Regions from separate parts of the Homo sapiens genome. Here regions 2 and 3 are each linked to region 1. Evidence: promoter capture Hi-C in human tissues and cell types (Jung and others, 2019). All regions are on one chromosome and are shown on one strand. Each heading gives the region's core, a stretch centred on a gene start or on the middle of the fragment in contact. The rest is flanking DNA. Distances are from core to core; before and after follow the strand shown. Region 1 holds the start of ICAM2 (intercellular adhesion molecule 2). Region 2 holds the start of STRADA (STE20 related adaptor alpha). Region 3 overlaps STRADA (STE20 related adaptor alpha).

What was found. Contacts are between HindIII fragments. The study calls those that stand out against the background at their distance.
Region 2: a contact is called between the fragment with the promoter of STRADA here and the fragment with the promoter of ICAM2 in region 1, in 1 of the 25 tissues and cell types used here (IMR-90 fibroblasts).
Region 3: a contact is called between a fragment that was not itself captured here and the fragment with the promoter of ICAM2 in region 1, in 1 of the 25 tissues and cell types used here (psoas muscle).

Annotation. Positions count from the first base shown.
Region 1 is chr17:64,018,891-64,022,771 of GRCh38, reverse strand. It overlaps ICAM2 (intercellular adhesion molecule 2), which reads left to right and starts at 2,139. Exons shown (of 5, transcript NM_001099789.2): 1 at 2,139-2,249. RefSeq lists enhancers at 1,700-1,749, 1,970-2,059, 1,805-2,305, 2,400-2,519. The HindIII fragment of the contact is 6,467 bases long and covers 1-3,881 here.
Region 2 is chr17:63,738,914-63,743,280 of GRCh38, reverse strand. It overlaps STRADA (STE20 related adaptor alpha), which reads left to right and starts at 1,482. Exons shown (of 13, transcript NM_001003787.4): 1 at 1,482-1,540. RefSeq lists silencers at 1,200-1,319, 2,823-2,991 and an enhancer at 2,857-3,356. The HindIII fragment of the contact is 12,282 bases long and covers 1-4,367 here.
Region 3 is chr17:63,708,965-63,713,185 of GRCh38, reverse strand. It overlaps STRADA (STE20 related adaptor alpha), which reads left to right. Exons shown (of 13, transcript NM_001003787.4): 7 at 2,350-2,458; 8 at 2,572-2,695. Among named protein-coding and RNA genes, the nearest start is that of LIMD2, 11 kb to the right of the region's middle. RefSeq lists a silencer at 2,563-2,857. The HindIII fragment of the contact is 3,518 bases long and covers 1-3,339 here.

The DNA of each region.
Region 1 (3,881 bases), core at 890-3,389:
TCTGATAAGATTTGATGAAGTGATAGGTCTTAGTCACTAATAAGAGGCTTTTTTGGAATGGTGTGTCACAGCCAAGGAAGCCTCAGCTCTGTGATCTTCGCCTGCCTCACTTGGGGGACCAGAAGGTAGCTTGTCCTGGAACTGCCTCATTCACAGAAGGCCCCAGTGAGTACAGAAACTGCACATCAAAGGGAGGAGTAAGGAAAACAGGATGGCAAATCTTCAAAAATTAAACAAAATTACTTTTTTTTTTTTTTGTAGCGATGGGGTCTCACTTTGTCACCCAGGCTGGTCTTGAAGTCCTAGACTCAAGCAATCCTCCCACCTCAGCCTCCCAAAGTGCCGGATTTACAAGTGTGAGCCACCAAGCCCAGTCAGAATTACCACTAAAAAAAAAAAAGAAAAAAGGTTAAGATGGTAGATTTTGTTGTGTATATTTTACCATTATGATCCAGCATTTCCACTTCTGGGTACATACCCCAGAGAACTGAAAGCAGAGTCTTGAGCAGGTATTTGTACAACCCTGTTTGTAGCAGCACTATTCACAATAGCCAAAGGTGGAAGCAACACAGGTGTCCATCAGTATATGAATGCATGAACAGAATGCGGCACACACGCACAATAGGATATTGCTCAGCCTTCAAAAGGAAGGCAGTTCTGGCCAAGCGTGGTGGTTCATGCCTGTAATACCAGCACTTTGGGAGGCTGAGGTGGGCGGATCATTTGAGGTCAGGAGTTCGAGACCAGCCTGGCCGACATGATGAAACCCCATCTCTACTAAAAATACAAAAATTAGCCAGTCGGCACGTGCCTGTAATCCCAGCTACTCAAGAGGCTGAGGCAAGGCCAGGCACGGTGGCTCATGCCTGTAATCCCAACACTTTGGGAGGCCAAGGCGGGCGGATTGCCTGAGCTCAAGAGTTTGAGACCAGCCTAGGCAACATGGTGAAACCCCATCTCTGCTAAAATACAAAAGAAATTAACCAGGCGTGGTGGCGTGCACCTGTAGTCCCAGCTACTCAGGAGGCTGAGGCAGGAGAATTGCTTGAACTCGGGAGGCGGAGGTTGCAGTGAGCCGAGATCACACCACTGCACTCCAGCACTCCAGCCTGGGCGACAGAGTGAGGCTCCATCTCTACAAAACAAACAAACAAACAAACAACAACAACAACAACAAAAACACTGAGGCAAGAGAATCGTTTGAACCTGGGAGGCAGAGGTTACAGTGAGCCAAGATCACACCACTGCACTCCAGCCTGGGCAACAGAGCGAAACTCCATCTCAAAAAAAAAAAAAGAAAGAAAAGAGAAAGAGAGAGCTCCAGAGATGGATGGTGGTGATGGTTGCAGAACAATGTGAATGTACTTAGTGCCCCAAACTGTACACTTAAACATAATTAAAATGGGCCTAGCACGGTGGCTCATTCCCAGCATTTGGGAGGCTGAGGTGGGAGGATTGCTTGAGCTCAAGAGTTTGAGACCAGGCTGGGCAACATAAGCAACACTCTGTCTCTACAAAAACTACAGAAATTAGCCAAGCCTGGTGGCTGCACACTTGTAGTCCCAGTCACTTGGGAAGTTGAGGAGGGAGGGTCACTTGAGCTCAGGGGTCAGAGGTTGCCACGAACTGTGATTGTGCCACTGCACTCCAGCCTAGGTGACAAAAGCAAGACTCTGTCTTAAAAACAACACAACAAAAAATTGGCTGGACGCAGTGGCTCTTGCCTGTAATCCTAGCACTTTAGGAGGCCGAGGAAGGCAGTTCACTTGAGGTCAGGAGTTCGAGACCAGCCTGGCCAACATGGTGAAACCCTGTCTCTACTAAAAATACAAAAATTAGCCAGGCGTGGTGGCAGGTGCCTGTGGTCCCGGTTACTCTGCGGGCTGAGGCACAAGAATCACGTGAACTCGGGAGGCAGAGGTTGCAGTGAGCCGAGATCACACCACTGCACTCCAGCCTGGGTGACTGAGACTCAGTCTAAAAAAAAAAAAAAAATTGAAATGGTAAATTCTGTTGTGTACGTTTTACCACAATTAAAAAAAAAAAAAGCGGAATGGGAGTGGAGCTAAATGAGGCTAGTTTAGGGTGGGAACCGGGGCACAGGAAGCACGTCACTTCTGGTGGGGAGTGGGGGGAGGGAGAAGACTGAATAAGCCGTGAACTGGGCAGCTGTGACACGCGCACCTTGTCACCTTGTCACCAATTTCCTGCCCGGGATCCCAGAGCTACCCTTCTTGGAGCCCACAGGGGTAAGGTTGAGCTTCTCACTTTCCCTCCAATGAAGCGTGGCAGCATGGGAAGGATTTTGGCAGTGTCGAGGTCTGAGTTTTAGTCCGTTCCCCTCTCTGGGTCTCAGTTTCTCGCTGGTAAGTGCAGGGGTTGGGGAATCCCCAGCGCTCCTGTGGCTCGACATTCTGCACTCTGTGAAGCTCCTGCCCTGCCCTGCTGGGTCTCTGAGCTCACGCACTTGCCCTGGCGCTCCTTTCCTGATTTGTCTCCCCTCTCTCCTTCCTCTGCTCTGCCATCTCGGTGGCCGATGTAGAAATGTGGGGCTGCCTCCTTATTTAGGGGCCCACGTGGGCTGTGATCTGGACCATCTGAGCTGATGCAGAGGGGAAGGGACAGTCCCTGTTCTCCCCGGCAGGCGTGGTGGGTTCATAATGAATCTCAGTCACTCACTTCCTACCTGCCTCGGTTCGAGGGGGTCTTTCCTAACCCATGGCTCACATTCCCATGAAGCCTCTTCTTTCTAGGCACGTAGAAAGGCCCTTTTTCCCTTTTATTATTTTTGTAAAATTTACTAGGTAACGCATAAAAAGCTTATGTAACATACATATACATCATACTGCACAGTAATATACCAAACACACCTGAAGCTGCCACTCAGCACAAGGATGGAGTATCACCAAACTGCAAACACCACTTATCTGCTTTTTTTTTTTTTTTTTTTTTTTGAGACAGAGTTTTCATTCTTGTCGCCCAGGCTGGAGTGCAGTGGCACAATCTTGGCTCACCACAACCTTCGCCTGCTGGGTTCAAGCGATTCTCTTGTCTCAGCCTCCCAAGTAGCTGGGACTACAGGTGCGCATGCCACCATGCCCAGCTAATTTTTGTGTTTTTGGTAGCGACAGGGTTTCACTATGTTGGCCAGGAGAGTCTCGATCTCTTGACCTCATGATCCGCCCACCTCGGCCTCCCAAAATGCTGGGATTACAGGCGTGAGCCACCACACCTGGCCACCACTTGTCCACTTTTATGCTACTTGCCTCCCACCCACAGGTAGCCACCCTCTGGAATTTTGTGTTTATTGTTCTCTTATTTTTAAGTGCTTTATTACATATGCATCTCTATTTATTTATTTATTTATTTATTTACTGAGATGGGGTCACACTATATTTCCCAGGCTGGAGTGCAGTGGCTATTCACAGGCATGATCATAGCACACTACAACCTCGAACTCCTGGGATCCAGTGATCTTCCCACCTCAGCCTCCTGATTAGTTGGGACTACAGTCTTGAACTGCTGCACCTGGCTATGCCTATTTATTTTTATTTTATGAAACAGTTATATAGCGTTACTGTGTGCTAGGCACTGTTCTAAATGCTTTAAAATATTTACTTATTTTATTTGTTTAATCTGCACAAAAACCCTATGAGGAAGATACTATTATTGATTCCTTTTTGCAGATGAGGAAATTGAGGCACAGAAAGATTAAGTGATTTGCTCAAGGTCACACAGATAGTGAGAAGTAAGGCCGGGAGCAGTGGCTCATGCCTGTAATCCCAGCACTTTGGGAGGCCAAGGCAGGAGGATCATGAGGTCAAGAGATAGAGACGGTCCTGGCCAACAAGATGAAACCCCATCTCTACTAAAAATACAAA
Region 2 (4,367 bases), core at 233-2,732, 280 kb after region 1:
TGGTGGATCACCTGAGGTCAGGATTTTAAGACCAGCCTGACCAATATGGTGAAACCTCGTCTCTACTAAAAATACAAAAATCAGCCAGGCGTTGTGGCGTGCGCCTGTAGTCCCAGCGACTTGGGAGGCTGAGTCAGGAGAATTGCTTGAGCCCAGGAGGCAGAGGTTGCAGTGAGCCCAGATCACGTCACTGCATTCCAGCCTGGGCAACAGAGCAAGACTCCATCTCAAAAAAAAAAAAAAAAAAAATCAAAGTGATGTATGTAAGATCAAATGAGAACTCATGTGCATACAGGTCCCACAGTTTCAGGGGCATATTTCTTTTTTTCTTTTTTTTTTTTTTTTTTTTTGAGACGGAGTCTCGCTCTGTCGCCCAGGCTGGAAGTGCAGTGACGCGATCTCTGCACACTGCAAGCTCCGCCTCCCGGGTTCAGGCCATTCTGCTGCCTCAGCCTCCATAGTAGCTGGGATTACGGGCGCCTGTCACCACGCCCGGCTAATTTTTTTGTACTTTTAGTAGAGACGGGGTTTCGCCGTATTAACCAGGATGGTCTCGATCTCCTGACCTAGTGAACCACCCGCGTCGGCCTCCCAAAGTGCTGGGATTACAGGCGTGAGCCACCGCGCCCGGCCTTCCAGGGGCATATTTCTATAAGTCCCTACTTGGATGTAGCTAAACTCCTCCCCCAGTCTTGGAAGTTAGGACGGTCTAAATCTGTGTCAAAGCTCAGAGCTGGCAAGAGCGAGTGTTCATTACCTGATGGTATATATCCGCGTTTTGGATACCCCCTCCTGCGCACGCGGGGGATAAGTCACTGAAAAACCTAGTCTCACAGGAGTGAGGCTTAGTTCATCGCTTCCTCATTTCTCAAGCTCTGCATAACCTGGCTTGGACAAACCTGATAGGTTTCCACAAACGGCTTCAGCTGTGGATGAGGAAGGCTTCGGGGGAAAAAAAAAGATACTGAGGGGACAAGATCGTTTTCATTAGTTGAGCTATTTTCCTTGTTTTACAAATAGTGGGGAGCAAAGAAAGGATGGGCTTCCCCTTTGCAGCTTGTTGTCTGGTGCCCGAGAGGCCAAAGTGAGGGGCATTTGAGATGTCGTCCAAGAAAAGTGCGAGGCGGGTTTTCCATTAGAAGTCCTACCACATGAAATGAGAAAAACACAATTCTCAGGAACAGCCAAGTTTGCCTTTCTCTGGTCCTTCATTGTTGAAGCCACCTGCTTCCCCCTCCTGCTGCGGGGGCGGAGGCTGTAGGCGGAAGCGCTGCGCGGCGGGAAAGACAACGGGAACTGAGAACCGCTCTCGGCGCGGCGGCGGCTGCTAGGGCCTGCCGCAGCCGCGGCCACTCGGAAAGGGCGGGACTTCCCCGCAGGGCGGGGTGGGGCGGAGCGCTCTATCAGTCCTCCCGGTCGCCCCACTGCGCATGGCACGTTGCGTACTCCCCTCCCAGCAACCGGTCTGGCGGCGGCGCGGCAGTAAAACTGAGGAGGCGGAGCCAAGACGGTCGGGGCTGCTTGCTAACTCCAGGAACAGGTACCTGCCTGGCGGGGTGCCTGGTACGCTGCCGGGGCCAGTCCCTCCTGGCTCTGCCACCGATTCCATCTCCCCAGGCCCGGGCCTTCGTCGGAGCGGCCATCCTGGGCTCACCTCACCCTCCACGGGCCCCCTTTTTAACCCGCGTCCTCGACTCCCGCAATGAGGCGCCGCAGCCCGAGAGCAGAATAGGCTTGGGCCTGGCGGGGAGACGCTGAAGCGGAGTTGCCGGGCGAGAGAGGCGGGCTCCTGCTTTCCCCTTCCTCCCCACCCCCTAGGACTTCCAGGTGGGGAACCTAGGGCTGGGTGCCGGTTTGTCCTGTTCAGGCAGAGTGGCGGCCGACCCCGGTCCTGGGCTCCCCGCTGTCCCCAGCCGCCGCGCACTTTGGGCTGACAGGCAGCGGGTCAAGTCCTCGTAAGGACACAAGATCCAGATGACTCCCAGAATCGGCCTAAACGAAGAGCTCATTGTCTTTTTGTTTTCCAGAAATGTTTTTTGGGTGCCTGCAGGGGATTTGGGCGCCGGAGATGGGGGTTGGGGATAAGGAAGAGAGCTCGAGGGAGGGGCAGTGGGTAGGTAAAATTGTTCATAGTTCTCAGGAAATAGGGAACTAACCTCTCTGCCCAGCCTTCTCCTGTATCCTAACATACTTTAACTTGACTTTCCCGGAGAAAGAGCCGTTGGAATTTGCCCTTTTCTTATTGTAATATCTGTTCAAGTAGAAGCATGTTCCAATACGTATATGCGACGTTAAGACAATTCTTCATTGACACTCATACCTTCCTGAAGACACCCAGGACTGTTTCTTGTCCCTGAGAGTTAAGGAAGAAACCAAATTTGATCACCTGCCAAAAGCCTGTGAATTCAGCCTTTAGTTACAGTGCTGAACTGGTCAAATCTGTCCCCTACTTTTTAATCAGATTTCTTAGAGGTGTTTTGGCTGGAATGCAGTGTTTATAGTTGTGGCCCCAGAAATGGAGGAAGTTTACTCTGGTTTTTAGAGCGCAGGCTTTGGAACAGATTTAATTAGTCCCCTACCACTTATCTGTGTGACTTTGGGCATTTAACCTCCCTGCACACCTGAATTTCCTGATCCGTAAAACAGAGATGATAATACTTGTGAGCTGCTCATGAAGCATTTAGCACAGTGCCTGACACGTAGGAAGTTTGCCATAAATGTTTGCTGGGTTTATTATTTTCTCTCTTTATTTTTATTTTAATTTTTTTGAGATGGAGTTTCGCCCTCGTCCCCCAGGCTGGAATGCAATGGCGCGATCTCCGCTCACTGCAACCTCGGCCTCCTTGGTACAAGCAGTTATCCTGCCTCAGCCTTCCGAGTAGCTGGCATTACAGGCACCCCCCACCACACCTGGTTAATTTTTGTATTTTCAGTAGAGACGGGGTTTCACCATGTTGGTCAGGCCGATCTCTGAGGTCCTGACCTCAGGTGATCCACCAGCCTCGACCTCCCAAAGTGCTGGGATTACAGGCGTGAGCCACCGCGCCCGGCCAATAAAGCTATTTCTATGTCTGTCCACTAGTAATATTGCTTTGTTGTGTGTGTGTGTGTGTGTGTGTGTGTGTGTGTGTGTATATATATATATGTATGTGTATATATATATGTATGTATGTATATATATATATATATATATAGTGTTAAATGTTTCTGATAGGCTGGGTACCGTGGCCCACCTCTGTAATCCCAGCACTTTGAGAGACTGAGGCAGTAGGATTGCTTGAGCTCCGGAGTTTGAAACCAGGAACAGGTACCTGCCTGGCGGGGTGCCTGGTGCACTGCCGGAGCCAGTCACTCCTCGCTCTGCCACCGATTCCATCTCCCCAGGCCCGGGCCTTCGTCGGAGCAGCCGTCCCGGGCCATATAATTATGTACATTATATGTATATACATATAATTATGTACATTATATGTATATACATATAATTATGTACATTATATGTATATATGTACATATATACATAAATATATAATGTATCAATATGTATACATAATATATACACATAAAATTATATATGTATACATATTAATACACTATGTACATATATAATATATACATATATGCATAATATATAATATACACATACATATGTATTTCTTAATTTTTGATAAGTGTGGATATATCTTTCGAATGATATCCATCTGCCCTCCCCTTCCATTAGAATTTACATTTTAAGGACATTTACATTTGCATTTTAAGGAAATTTGAAGGGAGCAGAGTGATGATGTTAATGTCATACAGATAACCGGGCATGGTGTAATCCTAGCACTTTGGGAGGCTGATGCAGGAGGATTGCTTGAGTTCAGGAGTTTGAGACCAGCCTGGGCAAGTTCATCTGTACATGATTCAATCTGAAAATAGAAAAGTCCTTCATAATTTGTATACCATTTACTGCTAATCACTAGGTAGAGCTACTCTAAACCAGCTCAGATGAAATTTATTAGTAAGATTTTATCAAAGAAAATACCTGTGTGCAGTTATTAAAATAATTGTATAGGGGGCTATAAAGAAAAATACCAGTCTCATCTCTATCTCTCTCCATCCCTGTGTCTATTTCCCTTTTTTTTTTTTTTTTTTTTTTTTGAGATGGAGTCTCGCTCTGTTGCCCAGGCTGGAGTGCAGTGGCACGGTCTTGCTTCGCCTCCCAGGTTCACGCCATTCTCCTGCCTCAGCCTCCCAAGTAGCTGGGACTACAGGCGCCCGCCACCATACCCGGCTAATTTTTTTTGTAATTTTAGTAGAGATGAGGTTTCATCATGTTAGCCAGGATGGTCTCGATCTCCTGACCTCGTGATCTGCCCGCCTCTGCC
Region 3 (4,221 bases), core at 331-2,830, 310 kb after region 1:
TTATTCATTTATTTATTATTTAGAAAGAAGCTAAGTAACTTGCTCATGGCAGAGGCAGGATTCAAACCCAGGCCATCTTGTTCCAGACACAAGGTGCCTGCCCTGCCACCAGTGGCCATCTTCTGGCTCTCAGCCTCCTGTTTGCCTGATGTTCCTTTCTTTTTCTTTTCTTTTTTTTTTTTTTTGAGACGGATTCTCACTCTGTCACCCAGGCTGGAGTGCAGTGGCACGATCTCGGCTCACTGCAACCCCCACCTCCCAGGTTCAAGCGATTCTCCTGCCTTAGCCTCCCGAGTAGCTGGGACTATAGGCGCACACCACCATGCCCGGCTAACTTTTGTATTTTTAGAAAAGACGGGGTTTCTTCATGTTGGCCAGGCTGGTCTCAAACTCCTGACTTCAGGTGATCTGCCTGCCTTGGTCTCCCAAAGTGCTGTGATTACAAATGTGAGCCACCGCATCTGGCCTCTTTTTTTTCGAGACAGGGTCTCATTTTATTGCCCTGGCTGGAGTACAGTGGCAGGACCACGGCTTACTGCAGCCTTAACCTCCTGGGCTCAAATGATTCTCCTGCCTCAGCCCCCCAAGTAGCTGGGACTATAGGCACACCACACCTGACTAATTTTTGTATTTTTTGTAGAGACAGAGTTTCACCATCTTGCCCAGGCTGGTCTCAAACTCCTGAGCTCGAGCAATCAACTCACCTCAGTCTCCCAAAATGCTAGGATTACAGGTGTGAGCCACTATGCCCAGTCCTGACATTCCTTTCTATTCGAGAAGCAAGTAGCCACTCTCTCGTTAAACTGAGAGAGGGGGCAGGCATGGTAGCTCATGCCTGTAATCCCAACACTTTGGGAGGGCAAGGCAGGGAGATTGCTTGAGCCCGGGAGTTTGAGATTGCACTACCAAACTCCAGCCTGGGTGACAGACTGAGTCCCTGGCTCAAAAAATAAAACAAAACAAAACGGAGAGAGACTGTGAGTCTAGTAAGTGCTTGGGAGTTAGACTCTCCTTTCCTGATGCCAGCTTAGAGTCAGGGCCTGGGGCAGTTTTCCTTCAGTAGAGTTAGTTGCAGCCCCTCCCCTCCTTCATTTACAACTTTTTCTGAATTGGTGGTTACCTGATGGTGCTCTAGGACCTGTTCATCTGTTCATAGTAGTTTGGTGGGTCTGAGGATGGAGCAGAAGCCAGTCTCAGCTGGCCTTCTCCTCCATCAACTGTGTTTTCTTTTTCTTTTTTTTTTCTTTATTTGAGACAAGGTCTGGCTCTGTTGCTCAGGCTGGAGTGCGGTGGTGCAATCACAGCTCACCACAGCCTCAACTGCTCAGGCACAGGTGATTCTACCACTTAAGCTTCCCGAGTAGCTGGGACTAAAGGCATGCACCACCATGCTCAACTAATTTTTTGTATGTTTCATATAGATGGGGTTTCGCCATGTTGCCCAGGCTGGTCTCCAACTCTTGGGCTCAAGTGATCTGCCTGCCTCGCCTCCCAAAGTGCTGGGATTACAGGCGTGAGCCACCATGCCCGGCCATGTTTTCTTTTATAATAGAAACATAGTTTTGGGCTGGGCACAGTGGCTCACGCCTGCAATCCCAGCACTTTGGGAGGCCAAAGCAGGCCTAGGCAACATGGCAAAACCCTGTCTCTACAAAAAAATATAAAAAATTAGCTAGGTATGTTGACGTCCACCTGTGGTCGCAGCTACCAGCGAGGCTGAGGTGGGAGGATGACTTGAGCCTGGGAAGTTCAGGCTGCAGTGAGACGGGATCACACCACTGCACTCCAGCCTGGGTGACAGAGCAAGACCCTGTCTCAAAAAAATAAAAAAGAAAACATTTTTGGCCAGGTGCAGTGGCTTGGTGGCTCACGCCTATAATCCTAGCACTTTGGGAGGCTGAGGCAGAAGGACTGCTTGAGCCCAGGAGTTTGAGACCAGCCTGGGCAACACAGTGAGACCTTGTCTCTACAAATAACAACAACAAAATATTTTTTGTTTTCTTATCTTAAAGAGGAATTCTATACGTTGGCCCTTGAAATTGAGATAAGCTTATAACTTCAGAAGTCTTCAGTCAACAGTTTGCCTTCATCATCTCTGAGTCGGTGTGCTGGCACCCTTTGTTGTTGGCAGTTTCCCTATCTGGCAGAGGCAAAGCAGTGCTGGGTCCCTGCAGAGGCAGCAGGGCCTTGTTTTTCCTATGTTGGCAGGCACCTGCTTAGGCTGTTCCCATGACTCTGAGAACACCCAGAAAGTGCCAGGTCCCCCTATTGTCCATGCTGCCATCTTTGTGTTGAGCGGCATCCTTCAGTGCCATTTGGTTCTGACTTCAGCTTCATCATTGCTTCCAGGGCGAGCTGCATGTCTCCAAACTCTTCAACCATCCCAATATCGTGCCATATCGAGCCACTTTTATTGCAGACAATGAGCTGTGGGTTGTCACATCATTCATGGCATACGGTGAGTGGGAAAGGGTTCTTGGTAGAAAGGGGTTATTGGGACTCTGTTGTCAGATTGCCTGTGTTTTCCTCCTCCATTACCTTTCACTGCCTCCATGCAATCCTTTTCTGCAGGTTCTGCAAAAGATCTCATCTGTACACACTTCATGGATGGCATGAATGAGCTGGCGATTGCTTACATCCTGCAGGGGGTGCTGAAGGCCCTCGACTACATCCACCACATGGGATATGTACACAGGTGCGTTCTTAGGCGGCCTTTCCCATGATTACAGTGGGTAGCTATGCCCCTGAGCCTTCAGGTAAAGTGAAGTTTGACTGAAGTTAATGAAGCCAGAGTTTAAAATCAAGGATCTGGATTCTTGCTGAAGATCTCTTTGCTCTGAAAAGAAACAGGGCCCAGCGCGATGGCTCACGCCTGTAATCACAGCGCTTGGGAGGCCAAGGCAGGTGGATCACAAGGTCAGGAGTTTGAGACCAGCCTGGCCAACATAGTGAAACCCTGTCTCTACTAAAAATACAAAAATTAGCCGGGTGTGGTGGCACATGCTTGTAGTCCCAGTAGCTGGGACTACAAGCTGAGGCAGGAGAATCGCTTGAACCTGGGAGGCGGAGGTTGCAGTGACTGGAGATCACACCACTGCACTCCAGCCTGGGTGGCAGAGTGAGACTCTTGTCTGAAAAAAAAAAAAAAAAAAAGAGAGAAGGATCTGGATTCTGACCTTGCCACTGACTTGGGAGATGGTCACTTAGCCTGTTAGTGCTGAAGCCACTGACTTTCTCTTTGCTGAGCAGCTTGGTCTTGAGTGTTGTGTGAGAGGAACATCTGATGTGGACCTTTGTACTCCACTCTCTGCCTCCTTCTTTCTGTGCCCCAGAGTCAGTCTTATGCTGAGAGACCAGGGCGAAGACAGATAGCTTAGTAGATAGTGTCAGGAAATCAGCTCATAGTAGGGAAAATGGTAAAACTGGACCCCTACATAACTCCTCATACAGAGAAGGACTGCAGCTGGATTAAAGGCTTCTATGTAAAATGTGAAACTGTAGACTTAAATAGAAGGAAATGTGAGAAAATGTTTTTGTGACCTGAGGCATGTAATAATTTCTCAACATTTTAGAAGCACAAAACATAAGACAAAAGATTGATGAATTTGATTAGATCAAGAAGATTTCTATCCAATACAAGATACCATGAAAAAGGTTAAGAAACAAGTGACAGAGCAGATGATATTAGCTTTGTCACCACAGGAGATTAGTAACAGGGAAATCTTGCAAATCAACAAGAAATGGACAGCAAAGCAAGAAAAATGGGCCAAAGATATGAAGTTTACAAAAGAGGAAACCCCAAGACAAACCCATCATAGGAAGAGCCACTCAAATCTCGCAATCAGAGAAAAGCAAATGAAAAACAAGATGTCACCTTATACACATGAGACTGGCAGCGGTTGGGAGGCTGGACGAGTCCCAGTGTGGCAAGGACGGGGAGCCTCCTGTCCAGGTGGTGGAAGATGCCCGGTGCTGCCAGTCAGGGTCACAGAACCAGAACCATCAATGCCACTTCTGGATGTACACCCTAAAGAAACCCTCGTGCAGACCCATCAGGGGACATGTTTGGATGTCACCATTCACACGTGTGTTGGTTAGGGGTAGTGTGAGTGTCTGTCCCCAGAAGGATGGATGAGTAAAAGTGTTAGATCTCTTCCCAGAACCAAGGTGACAATTAGAAGAAAAGATGAAAGGTACACAGCTAGCAATACAGATGTGTCT